Regions from separate parts of the Homo sapiens genome. Here regions 1 and 2 are each linked to region 3. Evidence: promoter capture Hi-C in human tissues and cell types (Jung and others, 2019). All regions are on one chromosome and are shown on one strand. Each heading gives the region's core, a stretch centred on a gene start or on the middle of the fragment in contact. The rest is flanking DNA. Distances are from core to core; before and after follow the strand shown.

What was found. Contacts are between HindIII fragments. The study calls those that stand out against the background at their distance.
Region 1: a contact is called between a fragment that was not itself captured here and the fragment with the promoter of NANOS1 in region 3, in 1 of the 25 tissues and cell types used here (dorsolateral prefrontal cortex).
Region 2: a contact is called between a fragment that was not itself captured here and the fragment with the promoter of NANOS1 in region 3, in 1 of the 25 tissues and cell types used here (spleen).

What each region holds. Positions count from the first base shown.
Region 1 is chr10:118,561,915-118,566,268 of GRCh38, reverse strand. No RefSeq gene overlaps it. Among named protein-coding and RNA genes, the nearest start is that of PRLHR, 32 kb to the left of the region's middle. The HindIII fragment of the contact is 6,270 bases long and covers 1-4,354 here.
Region 2 is chr10:119,486,637-119,491,005 of GRCh38, reverse strand. No RefSeq gene overlaps it. Among named protein-coding and RNA genes, the nearest start is that of RGS10, 54 kb to the left of the region's middle. The HindIII fragment of the contact is 4,157 bases long and covers 1-3,520 here.
Region 3 is chr10:119,028,209-119,032,253 of GRCh38, reverse strand. It overlaps NANOS1 (nanos C2HC-type zinc finger 1), which reads right to left and starts at 2,540. Exons shown (of 1, transcript NM_199461.4): 1 at 1-2,540. The coding sequence starts at 2,452. The coding sequence ends at 1,574. LINC03036 (long intergenic non-protein coding RNA 3036) reads left to right here and starts at 2,683. Exons shown (of 4, transcript NR_186540.1): 1 at 2,683-2,909. RefSeq lists silencers at 1,469-1,768, 2,139-2,348, 2,469-2,938 and an enhancer at 2,763-3,263. The HindIII fragment of the contact is 19,263 bases long and covers 1-4,045 here.

The sequences.
Region 1 (4,354 bases), core at 468-2,967, 470 kb after region 3:
GGCCAAGGCAGGAGGATTATTTGAGCCCAAGAGTGTAAGACCTGCCTGGACAACATGGTGAGATCCAATCTCTACAAAAAAAAAATTGCCAGGTATGGTGGTGCACCTGTGGTCCCAGGAACTTGGGTGGCTGAGGGGGGAGGATTGCTTTAGCCTGGGAGGTTGAGGCTGCAGTGGGCAGTGGTCACACCACTGCACTCCAGCCTGAGCAGCAGGGTGAGACCCTGTCTCGAAAATAAAATAAAAATAAAATAAAAAAGATCACTTGGACAATTGACATGGGGGCAAGAGAGAAAGTGGGAGGGGAGGGGAAGAGTTAGGGGGCTTCTGCCAGGTCCCATTGGACAAAGGTGAAGGCTGGGACTGGGGTAGGTGCCACACTGAGGGGGCAAACTTGGGATGTGTTTTGTGGGAGCGCTGCCAGGACTAGTCAATGGATTGGATGTGGGGCATGGGGAGGGAAAGGGAACACAAACATGATGTCCCCTGTGGTTTTGGTCTGGGTAGCTGGTTGATGGTGGTGTAGTGACTTAGATGGAAAAGCTGGAGGAATAGCAGGTCCAGTGTGAAAATCAAGGGTTCTGGTTTGGCCATGTTGGATCAGAGAAGCCACCCACAGAAGGTTTAAGGTACCGCGTGGCACCTGCAGAATGTCCAGGATGGGAGGATGCCTCCAGCTGCATCTCAGGCCCTGGCTCTGGGGGGGCACCCCCGCCCCCTTCTTGGAGTATGCTCTTTAGTGTGAGGAGAGTGGCCCCTAGTGAGTAGGGATCGGTAACCTCACCCACCTTCCACCCCTTTCATGAGGCTAGGCCACCGCATCTGGGCAGGAAACAGCAGAGCCACGTTCACCTGAAGGCAGTGACCACCTGGGATGGGTTAAAATGCGGAGGCTGCAATCGGGGCCCTGAATGTGCGTATTGAACTTGGGCCCTTGATATCTGTCATCAGGCAGGTTGGGTCCCACGCTCTGCAGATGTCTGTGATCCGAGGGTGTTGAATGGCCACGGCCCTGAGTGTCCCCATGAAGACTCCTTCCCCCACACACCTCAGTTGACTCACTGAGGGCCAAGGTGACAGAGTCCTTAAGACCACGATTTTGAAGTCAGATACCCAGGATTGCCTCAGCTGCCTCCATTCCCAGCTGCCTGACTGGGAGGAGTTGCGGAACCTTTCTTGGGGATCCCTTTCCCCCTTTGAGGAAGGTCTTAGCTGCCAAATGGCCACATTCTGAGGCTTTGGTGGACTCCTGTAGGGGAAGGACATGGTGGCCCTTACTGGTTGAAGGTAAAGCCCCTGACTCCTGGAAGCTTCCAGGAGACTCTGGAAGCTACCCTCACTTTCCGTAGGAGGAAGACCCTGCCTGCCCAGGGCTGCAGCCACTCTCCTTGTCATTTGACTAAATGCACCGCTTCCCGTCCCTCCACCAGATGTCAGGCCAAAGCTGTGGAATGGAAATGATGCCTGGGCTCTGCCAGGCGGCAGCAGCTGCAGCCTGGAATGCGAACCTCCCACAGATGCCCCATTAGGAGAGTTGGGGAGGGGGCACTGAGGGTAGGGAGGGGATGTGCAGGGGTCCTGGCATCCACACCGGGGCTGGATTCTTAGATCTCTGGGTCGAGGCTACTCTTCCAAAGTCAGAAAGGGAAGTGAATGGTGGGGTGCTAGGGCCCCTCTCCTGGCCGTAAGAGCTCAGAACACATGACCAGCAGAGACAAACAAATTCTCAGGCCCTACCAGATCTTTTTAAAAAATGTTTTTGGTAGTGGGAGGCATTAGGATTTATTTGAAACCTGTCTTTTTCTATTGATTGAATTATAGGTGACAATAGCCACGTTTCATACACTCCCTTTTCCCTCTTTGGGGGACTCTTGGAGAAACAGCCTCATGAGTTCATCTGACCCATACCCACTGGGGCAGAGCCCAGCCACGCCTGAGGGGTCTGTGGTGTGTCTGGACCCTTAACTGGGAGAGTAAGAAGAGAGGCTGCCAGAACCCAGGAATTCTGCTCTAAAAGGGACTGCAGCGGCCTTAGGTCCAATGTCTGGATGATGCTGGTGCTGTTTGTTTGGTTTCTGTCAGTCCCACCAGACTGTAAGTACCATGAAGACAGAAACCACATCTGCATTGCTCACTATGGTGTCTCCAGACCTAATAAGGTTTATCTGAGCTGAGAATGAATGCTTTTGGGGAGATGAAATATAGCAGGATGCCCTGGTGTCAGTATTTGCTTCGATGAAAAAAATCTTAGGTTTGTAACTTGCCTAGCTCTGTGGCCCTGGGCAAGTTGTTACAAAACTTTGGCCCTCAGTTTCTTCATCTGTAAGATGGGGATAATAATGGTGTTTCCACAGGGCTGTGGAAAAGAGTGCCAGAGACTCTGCACAGTGCCCAGTGCCTAGTCAGATGGGGTGCTTGTTCCAGTTACCTATTACCATGTAACAAACCATCCCAAAGCAAGTGGCACAGAGCAGCAACAATTTTATTACACTCACAGATTTTGTGGACCAAGACTTTGGAAGGGAACAGAGGGGTCATTGTTTTCTGTTCTGCAGTGTCAGCCAGGACCTCAGCGGGAATGATTCAAACAGCTGGGGCGGGGTGGGGGCAGTGATGAGACAAGCTAGAGGTGGGAACAGCTGGGACTGAGGATCCACTTCCAAGGTGGTTTCACTCAACTTTCCCTTGCCAGGCCTGAGGCTGCTGGGGGCCATCAGGATCAGGTGGGACTCTTGACTGCAGGAAGCCTCCATGTGGTCTCTCCAGTATGGTAGTCTCAAGGTGGCTCAGGGATCCAACAGCAAGCTCTCTAGGGAACAAGGTGGCAGCCTTATGGTCTTTGATGACCTTGCCTTGAAGTTCTATGGAGTATCTTTCACCACAATCGAAGGTGGAAGAAGACACAAGCCCATCTGCATTCAAGGGTTGGGGATGTAGACTACCTCTCCAATGGGATTACTATGGAATTCATAGCCATGTTTAAAAACTCCAACACTTTTAATTTTAATTTTTAAATTTTGACATAATTTCAGACTTTCAGAAAAGTTGCAGGAATAGTTCAAAGAATTGCTGTATTCTCTTCATCAAGCTCCAAATTTTAGTCTTTAAAATTTATCCCTTTCTCTCTATATATACTTCTACATTGTTTTTGCTGAACTGTTCAGTATAAGTTGCAGCTGTGATACTTCCTTATTTCTACATACTTCTGTATTTCTAAAAACAAGGACATTCTCTTACATAGCCATAGTACAATGTCCAAAATTAGGAAATCAGCAAACATGACTATTTCTGTTATAAGGTCATATTCAGATCGAATTGTCAATTATAAATTATAAATACATTATAAATGTCTTCATAGCCAAAGAAAACCCAGGATTGTGTGGTGTACTCAGTTGCCATGACTCCTTAGTATCCTTTAAACTGGAATAGACCCTAAGACTTGCTTTGTATTTCATGTGTTTACATTTGAAGAGTATAGAGCAGTTCATTTTTCAGAATGACCCTCCTTTGGGTGTGTCTGATGTTTCCTCATTGTCAGTTTCAGGTTATGCCCTTTTGGCAGGAGTACATTATAAGTGATGTTGTATTCTTCTCAGTACATTGTATCAGGAGGCACAGGATCTTAATTTGACTCATAACTGATGATGTTAACATCGATCACTTAAGGTGGTGTCTGCTAAGTTTCTCTACTGTCAAGTTACTAGTTTGCTATTTATCGTTAATAAATATCGTATGGAGAGGTAATTTGTGACTATGTACATATTCATGTGTAAAAATAAAAATTTCACCCACTAGTTTAAGGATCCATATGTTATTCTGACTTTAATCAATTGTTATCATGATGGTGATTTTCTAATTTTATTGTTTCTTCTATTAATACAATATTTTTTGTTTCTCCTTTGTAAGGAAGAACTTTCCTTCTTTTTCTTTCTTTCTTTATTTTTTTAGACGGGTCTTGTGCCAATGTTTTAGTGCTAGGGGTTTATTACTAGGTGGATGTCATTGCTTCTAGGCCCTCACAGTGGGCAGAGCTTAGAAATAAATGAATGCACACACACATGCATCTATCTTTATTTTTGTATTGAGCAATGTGTATATTTTAAAACTCATTAATTCCCACTGATACCCCAAATTTCAGTCATGTCCTACAGAGCATATTCTCGCCTTCCTTCTCGTGTATTTGTAACTCCTTTCTCTACCAGTGGGGAAACTGGCTCCCATGTTCCTCGGTATATTATTTATTTATTCAGTCCTAGTTTCAGAATTGCTAACCCATGGCTTTGTGGGGGAAAAAATACCTTATTAACTAGAGTTCAGTATTTGTTCAGTATTTTGTTTTTTTTTAAGTTTTAGT
Region 2 (4,369 bases), core at 193-2,692, 460 kb before region 3:
CTGCCTCTTTTTTTTTTTGAGATGGAGTCTCGCTCTGTCACCCAAGCTGGAGTGCAGTGGCATGATATGGGCTCACTGCAACCTCTGCCTCCTGGGTTCAAGCGATTCTCCTGCCTCAGCCTCCTGAGTAGCTGGGATTACAGGCATGCGCCACCACGCCTGGCTAATTTTTGTATTTTTGGTAGAGAGGAGGTTTTGCCATGTTGGCCAGGGTGGTCTCGAACTCCTGACCTCAAGTGATCCGCCCGCCTTGGCCTCCCAAAGTGCTGGGATTACAGGTGTGAGCCACTGTGCCCCAGCCGGCCCTGCCTCTTGATATCATCACACTGGGGACTCGGTTTCAACATGTGAATTTGGGGCGGGGGTCGGGGGCGGCACAAACATTCAGACGCTAGCACTATATAAAATCCAATGAGATAATACATGCAATGTGCGCAGCACAGTGCCTTGCGCACAGCGGCTTAATAAACCTTGGTGATTATTATGAGGCCACCAAACCAGGGATAGGTCGTGTGGTCTGCCTAAGGTGCGCAGGGAAGGGTAGCAGATCCCGGCCGGGTCTGACTCCTGGATCCTTGCCTGGGACTCTTTCACTGTCCCCCCAGTCCCCCGCACACACATGCACACGATGTTACCCCGCGTTCGAGTCGTGATCGACGGGCAGCCAGCTGGACCTGAATGTCATTCAAATGATTGCAGGCTCGAAACCAGGGGTGGGGGGGCTCTCAGGAGAGGATTTGGGCCCAGAAGGGGACATGCAGGGGGAAGCCAGAGAAGTGAGAGGGAGATCTGAGTGGTGGGTGCCCCAGCAGCGTAATATGGCTCCATTTCCAACCTGGAACCAGGTTGTTGCCTCTCCAGACATTTTGTGTCCGAAGGAAGGGGAAGGGAATTCAGTAGACATTCTTTGGAGGAGCCTCTTGGACTTCGGTGACTTTTTCTTGACAAGAACCATGGTCTCCTAGGGCAGAGCTGCCCACATGCTTTTCTGGGAGGTCCCGGGCTCCCCAGGCTCCTTGGAGTAGAAGGAAGTCTGGGGACCCCCGAGAGCCTGCCTGAAATTCCTGGCTTGAGCTCACGGGGGAGCTGGTGAGCTGTGGAGGGAGGCAGCTCCCGGGGTTCTTGCGGGTCCCTGCAGCACGGGAGGACCCTCCAAGGCCCTGGGCACCCATCCTGGTCAGACCGTCCCCTCCCACCAACTTTTCTCCTTGTCTCTCCCAGAAGGGTGCCCTGGGGAGACCCTCTCCCCAGAGGCTGGGACTGGGCAGGAAGGTGGGGCAGCTGCTCCCATCCTTTCTGCCCCGCACAGTTCAGGCAGTTCATCTTCGGGCAGGAAGATGAGGTTTCGAGGTACTTCCTGGGCTTGCGCTGACGTTTTTGACTACCGTCCCCGCCCCCACCCCGCCCCACTCTCTAGTTTGGCCTCTGCTGGCTCCAAAACCCTCTCAAATATCCCACGAGGGTCATTAGTGGGAGACCTTTGTTCAGTTCATTCATTTTTTAAATCAATGCTATATATTTTTTTAATGCTCGGAAACAGTGTTTTGATGTGAGTTTATTACTTGAAGAACTGCAGGACTTTGTACAACAAACTGCCTGATACTAAAGTTATATTAACAAAGAGATCAAGAAATGACTGGCTGTGTGCACAGAGGCTTAAAGGTTTAGTGTGGCTGAGATACTAAACGTCTCTCTTTCCCACCACTTTATTTTATTTTTATTTTTGAGACAGAGTCTTGCTCTGTCACCCAGGCTGGAGTGCAGTGGCATGATCTTGGCTCACTGCGACCTCCATCTCCTGGGTTCTCATGCCTCAGCCTCCCAAGTAGCTGGGATTATAGGCGCATGCCACCATGCCTGGCTAATTTTTGTATTTTTAGTACAGATGGGGTTTCATCTTGTTGGCTAGGCTGGTCTCAAACTCCTGACCTCAGGTGATCCACCCGACTCAGCCTCCCAAAGTGATGGGATTACAGGTGTGAAGCACTGCACCCAGCCTCCCATCACTTTATTTTAAAAGTGTATTTCCAAATCCTCGTCTTCTACCTCGGGGTGGTCGTTCCAAAATGTTTTATTTCTGAAGCTTCCCAGATAAGCAGCTACAATTTCACTCTTTCCTCCCCAGCTCACTGGGATGCATTTTTTCTTCTTCTTTTTTTTTTTTTTTTTTTTTTTGGTGGAAGGAATTTTTTTTAAAAAAACTAAGACGTACCTAATTTCAGTAAAGAGTAAAGTACACAAATCTTAAGTGGAGAGCTCTATGGATGTCTCCATTTGTCTACACACTCATAACTACCACCGCATTCGGCTATGGAATATTTCTAGCATCTGGGGTGCAGAGTTTTTTTTGTTGTTGTTTTTTGTTTTTTTTGAGACAGAGTCTCACTCTGTCGCCCAGACTAGAGTGCAATGGCCCGATCTCGGCTCACTGCAACCTCTGCCTCCCAAGTTCAAGTGATTCTCCTGCCTCAGCCTCCCAAGTAACTCCTGACCTCAAGTGATCTGCCGCCTCGGCCTCCCAAAGGGCTGGGATTAGAGGCATGAGCTGCTGCACCCAGCCTGGGATGCAGTGTTTTTTTGTTTGTTTGTTTTTGTTTTTTGAGATAGAGTCTCACTGTCACCCAGGTTGAAGTGCAATGGTGTGATCTTGGCTCACTGCAACCTCTGCCTCCCAGCTTCAAGCGATTCTCCTGCCTCAGCCTCCTGAGTAGCTGGGACTACAGGCACATGCCACCACGCCCAGCTAATTTTTGTATTTTTAGTAGAGGCGGGGTTTCACCATGTTGGCCAGGCTGGTCTTGAACTCCTAACCTCGGGTGATCCACCCACCTCAGCCTCCCAAAGTGTTGGGATTACAGGCGTGAGCCGCTGTGCCTGGCAGTTTTTAAGGAACACTGTGTTTGTCTATTTGGGCTGCGGTAACAAAATACCTTAGACTGAATGGCTTAGAAGCAACAGACATTTCTCACAGTCTGGAAGCTGGGAAGTCCATGACCAGGGTGCTGGCAGATTCAGGGTCTGGCAAGGACCAGCTTCCTTCACAGATGGACGTCTTCTCCCTGTGTCCTCACATGGTAGAAGGGGTGAGGCAGCTTTCTGGGGCCTCTTTGATAAGGGCACGAATTTCACTGGCGAAGTCTCCAGCCTCATGACCTCCCAAAGGCCCTACCTCTTAATACTTTTGCTTTGGCTTTTAGTTTCAACATGAATTTGGGGGTGAGGACACAAACATTCTGATCATAGCAAGCATCTCCTTGAGAAGTCCACCCAGGTGGAACATTCGACGTGAGCCAGGAGCTGTGGTGATGCTGGGGATGGGGTATCGAGGGTCCTGGGCCTCTCACTGTGCTGTCATCCTGACGCCCAGCTCTGGTGTCTCAGTTCTCAGCAGATGGATAATCCACACACTCTGTCCTCAACTCCTCGTCCAGCCATGTGGAGTGAGAAGAAGGTGGCCCCTCCTCCTCCATGCATGAGCTTTTTGAGGTTGTATTCTGATTTTTCCCATTAGGGAGATTGGCTACTTCACAAAACCTTCAGCAGCCAAGGTGCCATTTTGCCTATGTCCGATTCTGTGGCAGAGTTGGGAGGAGTTTCAGTGGAGTTGTCCATATTTTTATATTCCTGCCTATTCAGTGCAAATCATTTTGCTCAGTTTACCACTAACCCATCACTTTTAACAAACTTTGTATTAGGACAATTTCAAAATATTCCGAAAAGTAAAAACACAACCATAACAAAAACATTACCTTGACTTAATAATGAACACTTTGCCATGATTCATTTCTCTGCTCATGTTTTGCTGGCAAACTATTTTAAAGAAAATCAGACATAATGCTTCACCTAAAACAAGGACATTTAGTACACCTAATAAAATGAACAATAATTCCCAATATCATCTAATACCTACTCCATATTCAAACTTCCCAAGCTATAGAACATTTTGAAATGTCCTTTTTTAAAAAAATTATTTGTTTATTTATTTTGAGACAGAGTCTTGCTCTGTCACCCAGGCTGGAGTGCAGTGGAGTGATCTCGGCTCACTGCAACATCCACCTCTTGGGCTCAAACGATTCTCGTGCCTCAGCCTCCCAAGTAGCTGGGATTACAGGCGTGGGCCACCAGGCACAGCTAATTTTTGTATTTTTAGTAGAGACGGGGTTTTACCATGTTGGCCACGCTGGTCTCAAACTCTTGACCTCAAGTGATCAGCCTACCTTGGCCTCCCAAAGTGCTGGGATTACAGGCATGAACCACCACACCTGACCTGAAATGTACTTCTAAAAACCAGGATCCAATAAAAAAAAGTTGGCATTGTAATATCTCTCAATGTAGACCAATCTTCAATCTATTTTTAATGTAGTGGCAA
Region 3 (4,045 bases), core at 1,291-3,790:
ACACACCTTCAAATGAAGGTTCCTGATTGAGTCAATTTGCTGTGGATGAAGTTAGCTGTTTAATGCGAAAGCAGTCTAACTTCTAGTAGCCTAGCTAAATCCTACTGGGAGCCTTATACACGTAGACTAAACTCTTGCTGGTATCTTCAGATAGTAATGCATTTGTGTATTTCAGATGAGTTCATCTTAATTCACTTCCATTTTTTGCCTTCTATTGCCTTGCTTGGCAGGTAGCTGCATTCCATAGTGTGGCATTCAGTATGGTGGATTTAAAAGTGAGGGTGGGAGGGTAAAGTAGGGGTTAGGAACTTTTGCCCAAGGATCAGGTTTAGTCTTGCTTATGGGTAAACTGGTGGGGTTCCGGAAACCGACATGGGTCTTCCAGTAGGAGTGGGAACACATGAAGGACCCCCAACAATTCCTTTAATTAGTGCTTATTCTAGTTTGAGCACTGCCTGTATTAAAGTCAGACGCAGCCCACGGTGGAACCTTCTTGAATACGAGTTAATACACGAATAGCTCAGAGCTAGAGATCCATCTTCTATTTGTTTGACAGGCAACAGCTGGAATGGGCTTTCCTCCACTAGGAACCCTGAAATTGAGTAATCTAGGGTGAATTAATACTGCTGTCTTCCCTTCCTCCCTTTGATCTTAATATCATAAACGTTTTTAAAGAACTGGAAGAGGGTGAGTGTGTAGAGAAAATGCCAAGTAGGAAAGTTACAGGTGAGATTAATGAATTCATACTGTTACTGTATAAATACACAATTTTTTTAAACAGCACCATTTCCAAGTTATACACAATATGATTATGACTTGGCACAACTTTTAAAGGTGGAAAAGGCTAGTTGCTAGTTCAGTAATAAAATACCTGGTACATAGAACGATAAGGAGCTGTATTCTACCTGCTACACATTGTGCATTTTACACCTCCAGCTAGGACAGAAACAAGCCACAAGCGGGGAATACCCGCCCAAATTAATACTGGAAAGTTTACAAAACCTTCACTTCTCATAAGGGTGATGCTACCAGCGGCTTGCTTCACCTGGAATTAGAGTAACTGATTTTTAAAGACAACTGAGAATATTAACTCGCTTCAAACAATAAAATAGTCATTTTGCCGACATTTCATAAAATCGCCAGTTTTAAGCTCAGTTCAGAGGCTTTTAAAAAAATATTCTAGACCTAGTAAAGTGCCTCCATTCATAAAATGAAACATCCAAGATTGAGACAATTTCATACTGATGCGCATCTAAAATAGGTCGACGTATACAGTAAATAAACAGCGCCTCTAAGTTGCCATATTTCAGTTAGTGGAATACACACCCAGCCTTCGCCGTTCTGGATGTGCAAACTAGAAACTGAAGACAAATGGGGATTTCAGCGTCTAGTCCCAATCGTTCAGCACGGAAGTACTCCACACGGTCGGCTGCTTTTCAAAAACCACCAGGACGACGTCCCATGTCGAGCCGACCGCTGAGCCGCACGCCTCCCCACGGCGGGGGCGAGATGGTGCGCAGACCTAGCGGTGCGAGGGGCGGCGGCGACCCTGGGCGGCCGGGAGCCCGGGCCTTCAGCGCAGCTTCTTGCCAGGCGGGCCGTCCCTGGCGCTGCGGGGCGGCGGGCGGGCGGGCGGCGGCGGCACTTTGGAGAGCGGGCAGTACTTGATGGTGTGCGCGTTGTCGCCGCTGGCGCCGCACAGGGGACACGTGTAGCGGCGCAGCACGGGACACAGCACTCGCCCGTCGGGGCCCTTGAGGATATGGGTGGTGTAGAGCGCCATCGCCTCCTTGTTGTTCCGGCAGAACACGCACACCTGCAGCTCGGGCTTCAGCAGCCGGGCGGCCGCCGCCCCGGAGGCCGCGTGCAGCCGGGGCTCGGCCGCCCACGCCGGGGCCCGCTCCTCGCGCGGCGTCGCCTCGCTGGTGGTGGTGGCGGCGGCGGCGGCGGCGGGCGCGCAGCCCAGCAGCACGGCGGCGGCACGACCCGCGAACGGGCTCAGCTCGGCGAAGCGCTCCTCCAGCAGCCCGGCCTCGGCGGGGCCCGCGCACAGCTCCAGCGCGCGCAATTCCAGCGCGCTCCCCAGGTAGCGGCCCCGGGACCCCGGCTCGTCGCTGTCGTCGTCGTCGTCCTCGTCGTAGTCGGGCGGCCCCAGCGCCGGCCCCAGCGCCCCAGGCCCGGCCCCCGTGTGGGGGGAGCAGCAGGACGACGAGGAGGAGGAGGGCGGGGAGCCGCCGCCGCCGTTCCCACCGCGGGCGCAGCCGAAGCGCGGCTCGCCGTCCACCGCTTTGGTGATGAGCGTGGCGAGCCCCAGGTAGTCGTTCCAGGAGCTGAAGGGCTGCGGGTGCGCCGGGCCCGGGGCGCTCACGTAGCGGGCGCTGGGCACGAGCGCCATGGGCGGGGGGGCGCGGCCGCGGCGGGGCGAGCGGGGCGCCCAGGGGAAAGCCTCCATGGGCGGGCTGCGGGCCGCGCGCCGCCTCCCCGCCGCCGGCGCGGGCCGGACGGAAGGGACACGCCGAGCCTGCCCGCCGGCCTGCCGCGGGGTGGGGCCGCCGCGCCGCCTTTTATCGGGCCCACTCCTCCCCGCCCCCCGGCCTCGCCGCCGCGGCCCTGCCCCCTGCGTTCCCCCGCCCCGGCCACCTCGCCCGCGCCCCGGACGGAGGCGGAGCGGAGGCGGGCTGGCTGTGTGCGCGCTCCGCTCCAGCCCGCGCGGCTCCCGCGCCCCGCGCGCTGCGCCAGCCTCGCCAGCTGTCGGGCGGCCTTCATTCCGGGAGGGGGCGGGCGAGGCGCCGCCTCGAGCCGTGGCGCTCATTGGCTGCAGACCAGAGCCCCCCGGCGCCTCGGGCGCCGCTCCGGACGCTGATTGGTGGGAACACGGGGAGGGGGCGTGTTCTCCGCGCAGCTGGGAGGTGAGGAGAAAGTAGGGGAGAGAAGGGCCGGGAAGGGAGGGCCGCTGGGGCCCGCATTCGAGCGCCGGGCCTGGGCTTGGAGCAGGTGACCAGGCCTGGGTCTCCTCGGCCTGGTGGTGAGGCCCCCCGAGGACAGGGGTCAGGGTGGCCACAGGTTTACGCCCCCACCTCCCAGCCTTTAATGGCCCTAGGCCCTAATCCTGAGAATCCCCGCTATCCACCCCCTTCTCACCAACATCAGCATGAAAAGCTGGACGCGTTGGAAGGATGCAGCTCTCCCATCACAGCCGCCCAACCAGCCAGTGGCTTCCGTTTGCACCGCGCGTTGGAGCGCTTTCCCCTGGGCGAAATCCATACAAACCCTGAGGTTCGGGGAGGCTGTGGTTCCTGCCGCGGTAAGAGCGGAGGGACGCAGGACTTTCCGGCTGCACGCAGCAGCCTTCCTCCCAACAGGTGCTCAGGGACTTCAGCCAATGGGTGGCCGATAGCCGGTTACTTAGGTCGGGGTTGGGGCTGGGCCGGAAAATCTCATGGCTGGAGAGCCTAGGACAGTGACTGGGATGTGTGTGTGTGTGTGTACCCCCTCGCCCCAGAGGCCTGAGTCAAAATGTGGGTTGTATGTGCAGTTTGAAAAACAACGTGTATTCAATGTTATATTTTGTCTTCCTTCCTTCCTTCCTTCCTTCCTTCCTTCCTTCCTTCCTTCCTTCCTTCCTTCCTTCTTTCCTTCCTTCTTTCCTTCCTTCCTTCCTTCCTTCTTTCCCTCCTTCCTTTTCTTTCTTTTTTTTTCTTTTCTTTCCGCATCCCGGGTTCAAGCAATTCTCCTGCCTCAGCCTTCCAAGCAGCTGGGATTACAGATGCCCGCCACCATGCCGGGCTAATTTTTTGTATTTTAGTAGAGACGGGGTTTCACTATGTTGGCCAGGCTTGTCTTGAACTCCAGACCTCGCGATCCGCCTGCCTTGGCCTCCCAAAGTGTTGGTGTTACAGGCGTGAGCCACCGCGTCTGGCCTCTTTCTTTCTTTCTCACTCTTTCTTTTTTCTTCTTGATTTTTCTTTTTTCTTTTTTTTTTTTCTTGAGACAGGGTCTCACTATGTTGCCTAGGCTGGTCTTGAACACCTGGCCTCAAGCGATC